2 separate regions of the Homo sapiens genome follow, and region 2 is linked to region 1. Evidence: promoter capture Hi-C in 16 types of primary human blood cells and fetal thymus (Javierre and others, 2016). All regions are on one chromosome and are shown on one strand. Each heading gives the region's core, a stretch centred on a gene start or on the middle of the fragment in contact. The rest is flanking DNA. Distances are from core to core; before and after follow the strand shown. Region 1 holds the start of ADAD2-AS1 (ADAD2 antisense RNA 1). Region 2 holds the start of WFDC1 (WAP four-disulfide core domain 1).

Region 1 (6,915 bases), core at 2,066-4,565:
CTTTCTAAGGCCAACATCCCTTCCACGTCTGTCTGTGGTTGCTGGTTTTGATGCCTGTTTAGAGCAGACAGATCTCAGCGCAGTGGGGAGTGCTGAAATGGGTTCCCTTCCAAAAGGGAAACCCCCAGAGGGGCAGTCCTTGGGAGAAACAATTTAGCAGCAAGTACTGTGAAATTAACCCTGCACCTTTGACCATGTGATCCCAGTTCCAGATTTTTCATCTCTCTTTTGTGTTATAAGTAACACCCAAAATGATACTGTTTCATAGGAAAAGTGTTCAAATATAGAGCCCCTGGAGGAGAGGAATTGAAAGCAATGTGTCTGTGGCAGGTGGAAGTGCTCAGAGCCTTCCTCCTGAGAACAGGGTGGCGTGGGCTCTGGAGAGGGGACCTGGATTTGGGTCCTGACTCAAGTTGGGCAAACCGCCTGCCGTTTCTGCTCATCTGTGAAATGGAGTCACGCATCCCTGCTGTGGAGGAGTTGGGTGAGGACTTGGTTGAATCAGCGATGGGTCACAGCCTGCAGAGGCACTCAAGGGTGTGCGCGGCATGGGGTGGCGATGGAGCCTGCTGGAGGAAGGGAAGGGTGGTGAGGGTCTCATTATTCTGACCGTCCTCGATATCAGGTGTCAGGAGGAGGCAGAGGTGGTACCTGTCACAGGGCGAAGGCCAGGGGGCTGCTTCCTCACCTGGCTCCTTCCCCAGGTCCCTGCTTCCCCTTCTCGGTGAGCGCGGAACTGGATGGGGTGGTCTGCCCTGCGGGCACTGCGAATAGCAAGACGGAGGCCAAACAGCAGGCAGCGCTCTCTGCCCTCTGCTACATCCGGAGTCAGCTGGAGAACCCAGGTAATGGAGGGAGGGCCAGGCAGCTGAGCCGCAGCTGGGGACAAGAGGACTGAGGCTGGCAGTCCCGTGGGGAGGCGGAAGTGGCTGTGCGTGTGAGCAGGAGGTGGGTTGCTGTACAAACCATCTGAGCATCAGGACGTCACCTGCAGGGAGCTGGGGCGGGGTACATGTGCCGGTCCCTGCTTTCACGTCCTCTGGGGACACCGGGGGTAGGGACCGCTAGAAGAGCAGCTCGTGTAATGTCCTGTGTCTGGAAGATGAAAACTTCCTCTCCCCGCCTCCTTGGCTTCCTGAGGGACGGAGGGTGGGCCTTGGCACCCACACCAGCCCGCCCTCCTTGCCTCTTTCAGAGTCCCCCCAGACCTCCAGCCGGCCTCCACTGGCCCCCCTGAGCGTAGGTAGGTGAGCATTCCCGGACCCAGGCTTGTAGTGTCGAGGGGAGAGGCGTGGGCCCCCTTCTACCTGCAGTCTCTCGCCCTGGCGCAGAGAACATCCTGACCCATGAGCAGCGCTGCGCAGCGTTGGTGAGCGCCGGCTTTGACCTCCTGTTGGACGAGCGCTCGCCATACTGGGCCTGTAAGGGGACTGTGGCTGGAGTCATCCTGGAGAGGGGTAGGGATCGCCCCAGCCCTGGCCCTGGCCCCGGCCCCCTGGGAAGGGCCCCCTCAAGCTCCTTGCCTTAGGCTGGGCCGTCTCTGCCCCCTCCTGCACAGAGATCCCGCGTGCCAGGGGCCACGTGAAGGAGATCTACAAGCTGGTGGCTCTGGGCACCGGCAGCAGCTGCTGTGCTGGCTGGCTGGAGTTCTCGGGCCAGCAGCTCCACGACTGCCATGGCCTGGTCATCGCCCGCAGGGCCCTGCTGAGGTGAGGGGCAGTGGGGTGGGCGCCTGATAGCAGCCTTCGCCAGGACAAGGTCTTCCCAACCACCCTGTGCCTGTCGCTCCTAGGTTCTTGTTCCGGCAGCTCCTGCTGGCCACACAGGGGGGCCCCAAGGGCAAGGAGCAGTCCGTGCTGGCCCCCCAGCCAGGGCCCGGACCCCCATTCACCCTCAAGCCCCGCGTCTTCCTGCACCTCTACATCAGCAACACCCCCAAGGGCGCGGCCCGTGACATCTAGTATGCAGGGCCCCCGGGGCAGGCGGGGGATGGGGCTCCCTCGGTTGGGCTGCTGGGTGGGGGCCAGGGTCAGAAGAGCAGCCCTGAAGCTGATGTCTGTCCCCACCCGGCCCGCAGCCTGCCCCCCACCTCGGAAGGTGGCCTCCCGCACAGCCCACCCATGCGCCTGCAGGCCCATGTGCTCGGGCAGCTGAAGCCTGTGTGCTACGTGGCGCCCTCGCTCTGTGACACCCACGTGGGCTGCCTGTCAGCCAGTGACAAGCTGGCACGCTGGGCCGTGCTGGGGCTGGGTGGTGCCCTGCTGGCCCACCTGGTGTCCCCACTCTACAGCACCAGCCTCATCCTGGGTGAGCACGTGGTGAGGGCTGGGGGGGTGAGAAGGGAGGGCAGGGAGGTCACTCACCTTGTCCTGTCCCTTCTGCCCTGCAGCTGACTCATGCCACGACCCTCCGACTCTGAGCAGGGCCATCCACACCCGGCCCTGCCTGGACAGTGTCCTGGGGCCATGCCTGCCACCTCCCTACGTCCGGACCGCCCTGCACCTGTTTGCAGGGCCCCCGGTGGCCCCTTCCGAACCCACCCCTGACACCTGCCGTGGCCTGAGCCTCAACTGGAGCCTGGGGGACCCTGGCATCGAGGTTGTGGATGTGGCCACCGGGCGTGTGAAGGCCAAGTGAGAAGGGCCCCCTGGGGCCGGGCTGTGGAGCAGTGCTGGTGATGGAGGGCTCATGCATGAGCTTCCTCACCTCAGTCTAATCCCAGCGCAACCCCTTCGCTCAACCCCTTCGCTCAACCCCTTCCTAGCTCCGTAGTGGTGGCCACACCTCTGTCTGCCCTGTGAGTCCTGTGACATTGTCACAGTGTGAGAGGAGGTAGTGTGAGGTGTGTAGCAGGCCTGCTGGTCCAGCTTGTATCTCTCTGATCTCAGTGGTATCCTCTCTTCATCCAGTGCCGCCCTGGGGCCTCCCTCCCGTCTCTGCAAGGCCTCCTTTCTCCGGGCCTTTCACCAGGCGGCCAGGGCTGTGGGGAAGCCCTACCTCCTGGCCTTGAAGACCTACGAGGCTGCCAAGGTTGGTTCCCCACCCTCCCCCCGTCCCGGTCCCTCTCCAGCCCTGCAGTCCCTGCCCCCTGCAGGTACCTCCTCTCACCCCACCTCTCATCTCCCGCCCTAGGCTGGGCCCTACCAGGAGGCTCGCAGGCAGCTGTCTCTCCTCCTGGACCAGCAGGGCCTGGGGGCTTGGCCCTCGAAGCCACTGGTGGGCAAATTCAGAAACTGAAGCCAGCCTCGGCGGGACCGAGGTCCCGGAGCCAAGCTGTACCCCTGCTGGGGGAGTGCCCTATCTGAGGAGCGTTGTGGGGAGAACATGGGTTGTGCGGGGTGAAACTGGGGCTGGAGGGAAGGAGGAGCCTGCTGTGGTTGGGAGGCGGCTGCTGCACGTTTGGGCTTGAATAAAGAAGTATTTCTGGTTCCTGTGTGTGTAGTTGGCTGTGTGTGTGTGTGTGTGTGTGTTTATGTGTTGGGGTGGCCAGGGGCCCTTTGTTTGCGGAGAGAGCCCCTCACTCCTCCTTTGGGAGGCCCTGTGTTCACTGGGTTCCCACCTGGATCCTCTCACTGAGCCACTGAATTGTCACCCCCGCCCCTGTTCACAGGGCTGGAGGCAGGTTTAGGAGGGGAGGTGACCTCCCCTGGTTCCTCCTGTTTTCCAGCCTGTGTGCTGGAGGAGACCACGGAGGCCACGGGTTGCGGGTGTTGTAAAGGGTGGGAGGGCAGGCTGCTTGGATGTGTGAGCATTTTGTCCTCTGGCCGCTATTGGGGCTCCAAATCCTTGCCTTTCTGGGCCCCCAGGATGTGTGGGAGGGCAGAGAACACCCTTCCCTGGTCAGAGCTTTAGCTGCCCTGGCCCTCGAGGGTGCTGTGGGGTCTGGGCAGCCCCATGTTGAAGGGCGTGGGGAGGGCATGAGCAGCATCAGTGCTTTCCCTGGGCCGCCCGGCTGTTGGACCTGGGCGAGGCATTGGACCGCTAGAGCCTGCGTCTTCCACCATGGAGAGGGACAGTGCTCCTGCCCTGTGTGGGCTCGGCAGTTCTCTCTCCGTTTCCCCCAGGGTAGCATAGTAAGGCCACATGGCACTCAGGCACTCTGTTGACTCTGGATGGGGAGAGAAGATGGTAACACTAAAAGCATGTGTGCGTGCACACTCGCACACACACCTGGAACCTCACCAGCATGGGCACTATAGCCGTTGAGCCAGGAGCACAACAGCTTTGAAGTCCAGGGACCTGGGGCCAGGGACAGTAGAGGACCGTGGCCAGCCCTGTGACCCCCACCCTGTGACTCCCTCCCTGCATCCCTAGCAGTTGCAGGGTTCAGAACCACAGGCTACTCTCCCATGTGGGGTGTCTCTGGGAGGGATTAGCATCTAATTATGGGGCTGAGTAAGAAGATGGCGCTCCCCAGTGCAGGCAGGCACCATCCAATCCACTGAGGGCCTGCAAACAACAAGCAAGCAGAGGAAGGTGAATTCGCTCTCTCCCCTTGAGCTGGGACATCACAACTCCTGGGTCTCTGGCCTTCAGACTTGGACCAGGACTCATAACATTGGTTCTCCCAGTTCTCAGGCCTTCGAGTTTGGACTAGAACGCCACCACGTGGGCCCCCAGCACTCACACAGCAAATGGTGGGACTGCTTCGACTCCGTATCGTGTGGGTCAATGCCTCGCAATACATCTCTATATATCCTGTTGGTTCTGTTTCTCTGGAGAACCCTGACCGATGCAGACAGCTCACTCCAGAGCTGTCACTCAGGGCCAGGCCTAATGTTGAAGTCGTGCGATTGGGTCCTCTCCCTCCAACCCCCTTTTGTCTCTGCCACTGGGTGTGTGTGGCCGTGGCCACGGGCAGCCACTTAACCTCCGTGCTTGTAGGTTGACTCATCTAGAGAAATAATCAGAGGGCTGGTCCCAGGGGTGTGTTCTTGGCCAGCCTGCCCATCTGCAGGCCTGGGCTTTCCGTCTGCTTTCGCTGGGCTCATCCTGTCTCCTTTCCCCACAGTGACGATGAAATGGGAGAATCTGAGGGAGGTGGGGTAGAGGAAACAGCACCAGTGGACAGACTAGACAACTCCAGCACGCCTGAAGCATGGTGTGTCTGTTCTGTTTTAACCTCCCACAGCTTGCCATGATAGATGCGATCATTGCCTCAGTGTACAGGTGAGGAAACTGGCAAGGTGCAGTTAGGTAACTTCTAGAACACCCAGCACCTGAGGTGGGCTGGAGCTGTGGTGATGTGCAGGCCGCCAGGCTTCCAAGCCCTTCGATTGCAGCCACCACCCAGGGCTGCAGCTGGATTTCCTTACGTGACCTTGGATGAAACTCTGAACCTCTCTGAGCCCCAGTTTGCTCATTTATAAAACAAGGACTAGGTGATATCCTTCCTAAGGTTCCCTCGCGTTCTCTGCTCTGCTCTTTCCCGACTGCTGCAGGAGGTCAGGAGGATGCCCAGTGCTATTACAGGGAAGAGCTGCAGGCTGGCAGCCTGCGGGGAGGCGAGTCTGGAGCTGGGGGCATCAGGCTGGGAAAACGGCAGGCGGGAGGGCCGGAGAGGGGAGCTGAGAGGCAGGAGGAGCTGCAATTCACATGTGCAAAGGACAGGAGGTGAGCCCTTGCTGAGGGAGGAGGACTACAGAGAGAGGCGTTTGCACCAGCAGGAAGGGTCCGCGGGGCCGGGAAAGCCAGGAAAGCACCGATTTCTTGTTTGAGAAGACAAGGATTTTTACCTTTAGTTTTTGGTTTTTTAAAAAAACAAAAAAACAGAAAACACTTCTCAGGCCAACCTTGAAATAATGATTTCTCGTGGCTCTTTTTTTTCAGGGATTAAGAGAGGGGGGTTTAAGAACACCCAAGCCTATTAGCCTGTGTATTACACATTGTTTTCCCCAGGAAATAGTTTACATTGATTTACTTTTTGTACTGTAGTAGTAACTACAACCAAATCTGGAAATATACCAGCCATTTCCAATTTCAGTTTGATGCAATGAGCCTTTTGGTGTTCATTAATCACATAATCACTGGATAAACAAGTTTTTCAAATCGACATTAACTCTGTTGTGTTCCGCCAAATCAGTAATATTTGTCCCCACGTTGCATACATCTGCTTGTCCAGTGCTTTCCTCCCAAGACAGTCTTTTCGTGACATCAGAGTCGCTCAGTTCTTTTGACTCAGCTTGTTCATTACTGCGGGGTGATGATGAAAGCTACTTCTGAAATGCGGATCTGTTAATGTCTAGTTGGCCGCATCTCCTCTGGGTGTAAGTTTTACCAACAGTAGCATATTTGAATTGGGAAGTGATGTAATCTCACTTGGCACAAGTGCTGCCTCCTCCGAGTGCCATCCCGTCACTTCCTCCTGCAGCTCAGGGCACCCTCTGTTCCGTGCTGACCCATGTGTTGTCTTCACTCTGGGACAGAGTGTGCCGAGTGGAAGTGTGGACCTGGGAAGTCTCTGGGAAGCCAAGGCGCCACTCTGCCTCCCCAGTCCTCAGCTTCCCCACTTGCCAACTGAGACAGGATCACAGACATGCAGCCTGCAGGGCCATGGTGAGATGAGGGGGGAAGCGTGCCTGGCACTGTTCTTGGCTCTCTCGGCAGCCCTCAGCAGTGACTGTCATCAGGCCTATCTGCCATCAGCTCCCAGCATGGGGCCTTGTGCATTTATCTCCATCTCCTCCTGGGGGGGTCTCCCACATAGAAGGTGCCCAACAAACAAGCACTGAATGGAAAATTAGTTAGAGGATCACTTGCAGGAGTGTAACCTACCCCTATATAGAGAGAGACCAGAAACCCCGTCCTCAAAACCCTGTAGAAGACACTTTGAAAATTTCCACTGTGCTCTGAGCCCTTTTCCTATGCCCTGGAGCAGTCAGTGAGAATCTAGAGAAAAGTTAGTGAGAGTCTAGA
Region 2 (7,606 bases), core at 3,368-5,867, 98 kb after region 1:
AATGTTACTTGACGTTGCCATGTTGACCTCACCCACAGCCATGACTTTGGCCTTGGCCTTGACTTCTATCATGACTAATATATATACATAGAAAAAAAGAAAGGCTACGTTGGTTATCTCTGGATACTGATACTAGATGTATGTATTTTAAAGATTTTGTTTATTCTTTCCTCTGTTTTCCCAGTTCTCTGCTAATAAACATGAATTATGCTATTAGGGGAAAAAAACCATAATATAATAACTTTTAAAAATTCTGAATTAGGCTGGGTGCGGTGGTTCACACCTGTAATCCCAGCACTTTGGGAGGCTGAGGCAGCTGGATCACCTGAGGTCAGGAGTTTGAGACCAGCCTGGCCAACATGGTGAAACGCCATCTCTACTAAAAAAAAAAAAAAAAAAAAAAAAAATTAGCTGGGTGGTGGCTGGTGCCTGCAGTCCCAGCTACTCGGGAGTCTGAGGCAGGAGAATCTCTGGGACCCAGGAGGAGGAGGTTGCAGTGAGCCAAGACCACACCATTGCACTCCAGCCTGGGCAACAAGAGCGAAACTCCATCTCAAAAAAAAAAAAAATTATGAATTAGAGACCAGATAAAGAGAGGAGTAAGGTAGGTATTAGCAGTGAAGTGAAGGTTTGAGCTTGGGTGTCTGGTTAGACAGTGATGGCCTTGGCTGAACCTTAGAGAAGGAGTTTGATATCTCAGACAAGCAAAACTTAATAGAAACATAAGGCAAGCCACATGTGTAATTGTAAATTTTCTAGTAGCCATGTGAAACAGATACGGAGCCGGGTGCAGTGGCTCATACCTGTAATGTCAGCACTTTGGGAGGCCGAGGCAGGTGTATGGCTTGAGCCCAAGAGTTCAAGATCAGCCTGGGCAACATAGTGGGACCTCGTCTCCAAAAAGAAACAGGTACAGTTAATGTAATACCATATTATATTTAACCCAATATAGCATAAACATTAGTAGTTGAATTAGCAGTTGAATGCACGACCAACGTAAAAACTCCTAATGAAACGTTGACATTTTTTTTTTCCTGTCTCCAGCCAACAACAGATGCTGGTGAGGCTGTGGAGAAAAGGGAACGCTTATACACTGTCGGTGGGAGGGCAAACTAGTTCAGCCACTGTGGAATGCAGTTTGGAGGTTTCTCAAAGAACTTAAAGTAGAATTACCATTCAACCCAGCAATCCCACGACTGGGAATATATGCAAAGGACAGTAATTCATTACTGTCATAAAGACACATGCACTCACAGGTTTTCCAAATCGGGTCTGCATTTTATCCTTATGACAGATCTCATTTCAGACCAGCCATGTTTCACAGGGAAGCATGGGTAGAGAGCGACAGCCACGTCGAGCCATCGAGCTGGTAGATGAAATGTGTTAAGCACAACTCATTCATTACACCGTCTTTACTGAGTGTCTACTTTGCACCAGGCACTGCTTAGGGATCGGCGATTCCAAAGTGAACAAACAGATCCCCAGAAGCTGCCCCCGTGGAGCTGACATCCTAGTGTGGAGACATAGACGATAAACGAAGAAAGCAAAGTTAGTAAAATACAGAATATGTCAGGTGGAGATGAGTACGAAGAAGCATAAAACCAAGAGGGGCACCGTGAGTCCCAGTGGTATGCAAATGGTGGTTTTCAATCCTGGGGTCAGAGAGGACCACAGCAAGAAACTGACACGTGAACAAAAGTCTGGAGGAGGTGATGGGTGAGGAGTGCCGCAGCTGGGTGGAAAAGCATTCCAGGTGGAGGGCGCTGCAGGGGCACAGGGCTGGCGCCTTGCCCAGCAAGGAGGCTGAGAGAGGGCATTTGGAACCTCGTCTACCCAGAGGGAGGGGAGTCATACTGTTGGCAGAAGTGAGGCCACCCAGGGAGAGAGAGAGAGAGGCAGGAAATGGGCCAAGACTGTAACATCAATGGGAAACGCCTACATTTTAAGGGGAAGGTGGAGATGGAGGATGAGCAAGAACCACATGGGAGGCGTTAGCTGCCTTAGGAGAGCGCAGGGCCCCAGGTTCCAAGCAGCAGGAAGTTTCTCAAATGGAACCTGGGCCAAGGTTCCGCTCTGCCTGGAGAACAGGGTGCGGGTGGAGGAGGCCCAGGAGGCGGTGCCTCAGAACGCTCATCTCCTAACAGCAAGCATGTGCTGAGCCTAGATCCTCGCCTAAGTGCAGCTGGGCCTCATGGCAAACCTGCGAGTAAGTTCTGACTCCATACCCCTGTTTTACAGATGAGAAAACAGAGGCAGAGAGATGGGGCAGGACCTGTTCCAGGTCGTCCTGGTAAGTAGGGGTAGCAGCTCCATCATGTCCGTGGGTGGCTCCTGGCTTCTAAATAAGCAGCCTTGCCCTGCAGGGAGGGGCATTGAGACTGCGTCCCATAAAGCTGAAAGAAGAGGGAGTGGAGCACGCTGGACCATGCCCCCATAAGGGCTCAGCCAGTAGTTTCTGGATGAAGAAATGAAGGAATATTCTAGAATCTAGGGCAAGGTAATGATCAGGGCTGGGCCTAGCGGGAGGCAAAGGAGGCATCTAGGGTCTAAAATGTAAAAAGACTCTCACGCTTGGGCTCCTGGGTTTACAGGACTCTGATGGTGAACTTAAATTTTGCATTGCTCACTGGGCAAGTGTCTTAACCTCTCTGTGCATGGGATCCTAGACAGCACCTGCTTATAAGGCTAATATGAGACCTAAAAGCATTAAAATGCAGGAAGTGCTTCAAACATTGCCGAACACACAGACTGTATGGCTTTTAAGGTTTTTTTTTTTTGATACAGGGTCTTGCTCTGTGACCCAGGCTGGAGTACAGTGGCGCCATCACAGCTCACTGCAGCCTCAACCTCCCACGCTTAGGTGATCCTCCCATCTCAGTCTCCCAATTAGCTGGGACTACAGGTGTGCATCAGCACGCCGGGCTACTTTTTTTATTTTGTATTTTTTGTAGAGATGAGGTCTCACTATGTTGCCCAGACTGGTCTTGAACTCCTGGGCTCAAGGCATCCTCTGCCTCCCTAAGTGCTAGGATTACAAGTGTGAGCCACCGTACCCGACCTACACAGACTATATGTGTTTGCCACTATTGTCATTCACTAAAAGGCCAAGAGGGGTTGATGATACCTGCCCAGGGCATTCTGAAGGCTGTGCTGGCCAGGAGGTGGGGGGTGAGGGTCCCCAGGGAGGGAGGAACCAATCTTTCTGGAGCACTCACTCTGTGCAAGTGCTGGGCACAGCTGGCACCCTCTCCTGTAGCCCCACATCGATCTCAAGAGGCAGAGACTTTCACATGCCCATTTCACAGATGAGAGAACTGAGGACCATGAGCAAGAGGCTTTCCAGCATCTCGCAGAGGCTGAACTGGGATCAGGCAGGTGCGTCAAGCCTAGTGCTTGGGTCCCTTCTGCTTCGCCTAGGGGGGTGCCACAGGGTCTGACCTACCTGGGTTCCAGCCTCCTCTCTGCTGCTGTTGCATGACCTCAGGCAGCCCCCTCTGTTTCCTCATCTGTAAAGCGGGCATCAAAACAGTGTCTGTTTTGGGGCCGGGTGTGGTGGCTCACACACCTGTAATACCAGCACTTTGGGAGGCTGAGGCGGGCAGATCACTTAAGGTCAGGAGTTTGAGACCAGCCTGGCCAGCATGGTGAAACCCAGTCTCCACTAAAAATACAAAAATTAGCCAGGCATGGTGGCACATGCCTGTTATCCCAGCTACTTGGAAGGCCGAGACAGGAGAATCGCTTGAACCCGGGAGGCAGAGGTTGTAGTGATCTGTGATCACACCACTGCACTCCAGCGTGGGTGACAGAGCAAGACCCGTCTCGAAAAACAAAACAAAACAAAAAACCAGTATCTGTCTTGGAAGTGCTGAGAACAGACAAGGGAATATGAAGTTTGTGAAATGTTGAGCCCGCTGTGCTACATTCCTGTAAAACACACACGTGCACATGCACACCCACGTGCACACACGCATACACATAAATGCACATGTGCAGATACACCGGCTGACAGTGACAGCACACTTATGTGTGTGAAATGCTTTATGTGCTCAATTTCTTTTAAATCTCACAGGAAACACACGCTATGAGGAACTACCCACATGCCCACATCAGGCAGGAGGACCCCGGCGGGTGCAAGGGTGGAAGTCGTCTCTTCATGGCTGCACCCTTGGCCAGTGCCAGTCCAGCAGCCTCTTTCAAAGAAGCTTTTATAGGCAGATAGTTTGTCAGCCCAGCTCGAAATGTGAACAAGGTAGCAGCCGAGCCCCCACCCATCCGGCTGCACTCCCCTGCATGTCCAGCCCCGAGCCCTGTGTCAAGCACACCTCCTTGGGAGGAGACCGCCCCAGCCTGCAAGGAAGTGCTCATTATGGAGAGTGGAGAGTGACAGGCCACTCCCGGCCACGTCTCCAAGCAAGCCGGTGCCCCCTCCTCCTGCTGCCACCGCCCACTGAGCTGCCTGGGCTGCAGACGCCCTGGTTGGAGCGTCTGGGGCCAGATGTTATAGGGCAAGCTAAAAATAACCGGGCAGGCCAGCCACCATCGAGGAAGGGGCATGTGCTGGACGCGGACACATGATCCGAGGGACCCTGCTGGGTGGAACTAAGAAAGTCCAGCAGACTGTGCACGCTCCTGTCCCCACTCACAGGCCCACGCAGCGAGGGGGGCCCCTCTTCTGTGTGCGTCTGGAAGGTCGCTGCCCAGGGAGGAAATGCCTTTAACCGGCGTGGGGCCGGGCAGCTGCAGGAGGCAGATCATCCGGGCTCTGTGCCTCTTGCTACTTCTCCTCCACGCCGGCTCTGCCAAGAATATCTGGAAACGGGCATTGCCTGCGAGGCTGGCCGAGAAATCCCGTGTAAGTGCCTGGGATGGGGAGGCTGGGGCAGCCTGTGTGGGTGGGAGTCAGCCTTGAGGAGAGGCGATCCCTAGACACTGCCTTCTCCTGTAAGTGCTCCCCCAAAACGTGGCAAGGCAGGCGTCTTCCTATCCGTGTGTGTCTGAGTTGTGTGGTGGGCAGATGGGGCTCACCCCCAAAAAAGGACCCTTATCTGTGAATCAAGAGGCAAAAGACACATCACAAATGTGCCAAAGAATCGTGCCTTACTTTTGCCTTGTTACAAAAGTATGCTTGCTCCTGAAAGACAGCATCTCATTTCGGAACCCCAGGATTTAAACGGAGCATTCCGTCTCCCTGATCAGTACCAAATGTTTGTGAAATACACTTATGCATTCATGTGGTTGTTTATTCATTCAGCAAACAGAATGAATACACTCTGTTAAACAGAATTTAGCAGAAACCGCTCTGGGGAAGGCACTCTGTGGGGTCCTGTGGATACAAGATAAAGGAGGTACCAGCCCCCATCCTCAAGGGTGGCGTGGCCGAGGTGCAGAGGCAGTTGGGTGACAAACGATGGCAGTACAAAGAGAAGGCATGAGGCAGTGAGTGGCAAGAAACACATGCCCTGGGGCCAGATGTCTGGGTGTGAATCGGGCTCTGCTGCTCATTAGCTGCGTGGCTTCTCTCAGGCAAGCTGCTTGACGTCTCTGAACCCCAGCAATCTCATCTGCAAAAGACAGAGGGATGCATTTCTTCACACAACTATGTCTGGGTCGCCACTGTTTACCAGGTACTGTCCTAGGCTGTGGGGATACAGGCCTCACATCTCTGCCTGGGGAACTCAATGGGGGGCTGGGGGCAGCAAAGAATAAATGAGAGAGATCTCATTTATTAGTATGTGCAGATTGCAAGTGCTGAGGAAGCAATAAAGCAGGAAGGGAACTAGGAGAGAGAATGGGGTGGAGGAGGCTATCATTTTTGGTTCCTCCCACCCCCCAGAGATCACAGATCCGCAGGGACGGAGTGAGCCAGGACGATATCAGCACACAGAGGGCTCAAGAAGGTAATGCTGGCACCCACAGCACCTGTGTGAGGATTGAATGTCTCAGTATGTAGAACGTCTTTGCAACATAGCAAGCTGGCAGTGCATCTTGGCAGCTTTCAATCAAATAATTGTGACTTTGTTTGGTGTTGCCTAACAGGGTAGCATGTAGGTTCCTTGGGGTAGGGCAGGGTTCTGTTTCACTAATGTGTGCCCCTGGTGCCTGCCATTAAGTTGACGCCTGGTACATTCTTGTGGGTGAATTATGAGCGGCTGCAGTGGTAGCACGGGATGCGTGTGCAGCTCTTCCCCAGGAGAGTCAGACAGGGTTTTTAGGGTTGGGGACAGTGGACCTGTGGCTTTAAAGGATAAATAGGAGTTTGCCAGCTGGAGAAGAGGGAAGGGAGAATGATTAATGACCCCAGGCATAGTGGGGTGCCTGAAACTGTATTGAGACAAATCTGGGCCTCCAGGGCTCATATTCTCCATGTTCGGCACATGCTCGTGGCGGGAGACAGGAGGACTTCGAGAAGTGGAAAGAGTAGTAGAGTGACATGATGAGGCGCTTGGAGAAGGGAAAGCTCATGTGAGATGGTGTAGTCACCTAAGGCTTCCTGGAGGAGGTGGAGACCTTGACTGGATCTTGGGGAAGGATTAGGAATTAGGAGGAGGAAGGAAATTCCTGGAAGAAGGCTCAGCATGAGCCGAGGCTCACAGGCAGAAGTGGTGCATCTAAGAGCTGCTTGGGAGACCAGACCTGGCCAGAGGGGAGGCATTGAGGAGGGGTGAGAGACTCTTCTCAGATTTTATTGACTCCTCCATGCTCTTCTCTGGTGCAACAGGATGATTTAACCCTCAACTGTAGTTAGTAGCACTTTGGTTCTACAACCATAGAGAGATTGCCAATATGTCATCTGATTTTATCTCCACCATGTCCCAAGATGTCATAGGAGCCAGCACTGTGACATCCACATAGGAGGGTCAGGGTTGATATGCGCGGGGGATTTGGGGGAGTCTCTAAAACACAGGCCTGGGTGGGCTGCAGGAGCTGATTCACTTGTAGCCACCACTGGTCAGGATGCAAGTGCTTTGAATTGGCTCCTCGCTGAATTGAAACTTTCCCTGGTTATCAACAGATATTGGCCTCCTTCCTCAGCGCCTAGACATAGGTGAGGTTTATGCAGAACAACTGTGCCAGCCAGGCACGGTGGCTCATGCCTGTAATCCCAGCACTTTGGGAGGCCGAGGCGGGTGGATCACCTGAGGTCAGGAGTTCAAGACCAGCCTGACCAACATGGTGAAACCCCATCTCTACTAAAAATACAAAATTAGCTGGGTGTGGCGGCAAATGCCTGTAATCCCAGCTACTCAGAAGGCTGAGGTGGAAGAATTGCTTGAACCCGGGAGGTGGAGGTTATAGTGAGCCGAGATTGTGCCATTGCACTCCAGCCTGGGCAACAAGAGTGAAACTCTGTCTCAAAAAAAAAAAAAAAAAAAAAAAAAAAAAACTGTGCCTCAGAGAAAGCCCTGGGCGAAGACAGGCTGTTCGCCTGTGGCTCAGAGGACAGGGAGGGCTGGGAAGAGCACCTGGCCTGGAACTTATCACAGTGAAATCTCTAATGTGCTGTGCAATCTTGGACCACTCGCTGCCCTTCTCTGGTCCTCAGTCCTCACCTGGGAAATGAAGATGGAGAACCTATGACTTTCATGGCCCTTTCGTTCGACAG

The links. The method cuts DNA at HindIII sites, captures the fragments that hold promoters and counts their contacts. A CHiCAGO score of 5 or more calls a contact.
Region 2: a contact is called between the fragment with the promoter of WFDC1 here and the fragment with the promoter of ADAD2-AS1 in region 1, in 1 of 17 cell types (endothelial precursors). The highest score is 5.3, in endothelial precursors.

What each region holds. Positions count from the first base shown.
Region 1 is chr16:84,193,738-84,200,652 of GRCh38, forward strand. It overlaps ADAD2-AS1 (ADAD2 antisense RNA 1), which reads right to left and starts at 3,316. Exons shown (of 5, transcript NR_147175.1): 1 at 3,145-3,316; 2 at 1,524-1,704; 3 at 1,308-1,419; 4 at 652-988; 5 at 1-569. It overlaps ADAD2 (adenosine deaminase domain containing 2), which reads left to right. Exons shown (of 10, transcript NM_001145400.2): 2 at 705-845; 3 at 1,196-1,243; 4 at 1,332-1,457; 5 at 1,559-1,709; 6 at 1,793-1,960; 7 at 2,078-2,307; 8 at 2,390-2,633; 9 at 2,910-3,030; 10 at 3,133-3,429. The coding sequence ends at 3,237. RefSeq lists enhancers at 569-1,768, 1,924-2,546. The HindIII fragment of the contact is 32,016 bases long and covers 1-6,915 here.
Region 2 is chr16:84,290,261-84,297,866 of GRCh38, forward strand. It overlaps WFDC1 (WAP four-disulfide core domain 1), which reads left to right and starts at 4,618. Exons shown (of 7, transcript NM_021197.4): 1 at 4,618-4,855. The coding sequence starts at 4,712. It overlaps LOC124903734, which reads left to right. Exons shown (of 6, transcript XM_047435022.1): 3 at 1,438-1,716; 4 at 2,239-2,290; 5 at 3,257-3,375; 6 at 4,073-4,578. The coding sequence starts at 1,713. The coding sequence ends at 4,578. The HindIII fragment of the contact is 4,383 bases long and covers 4,204-7,606 here.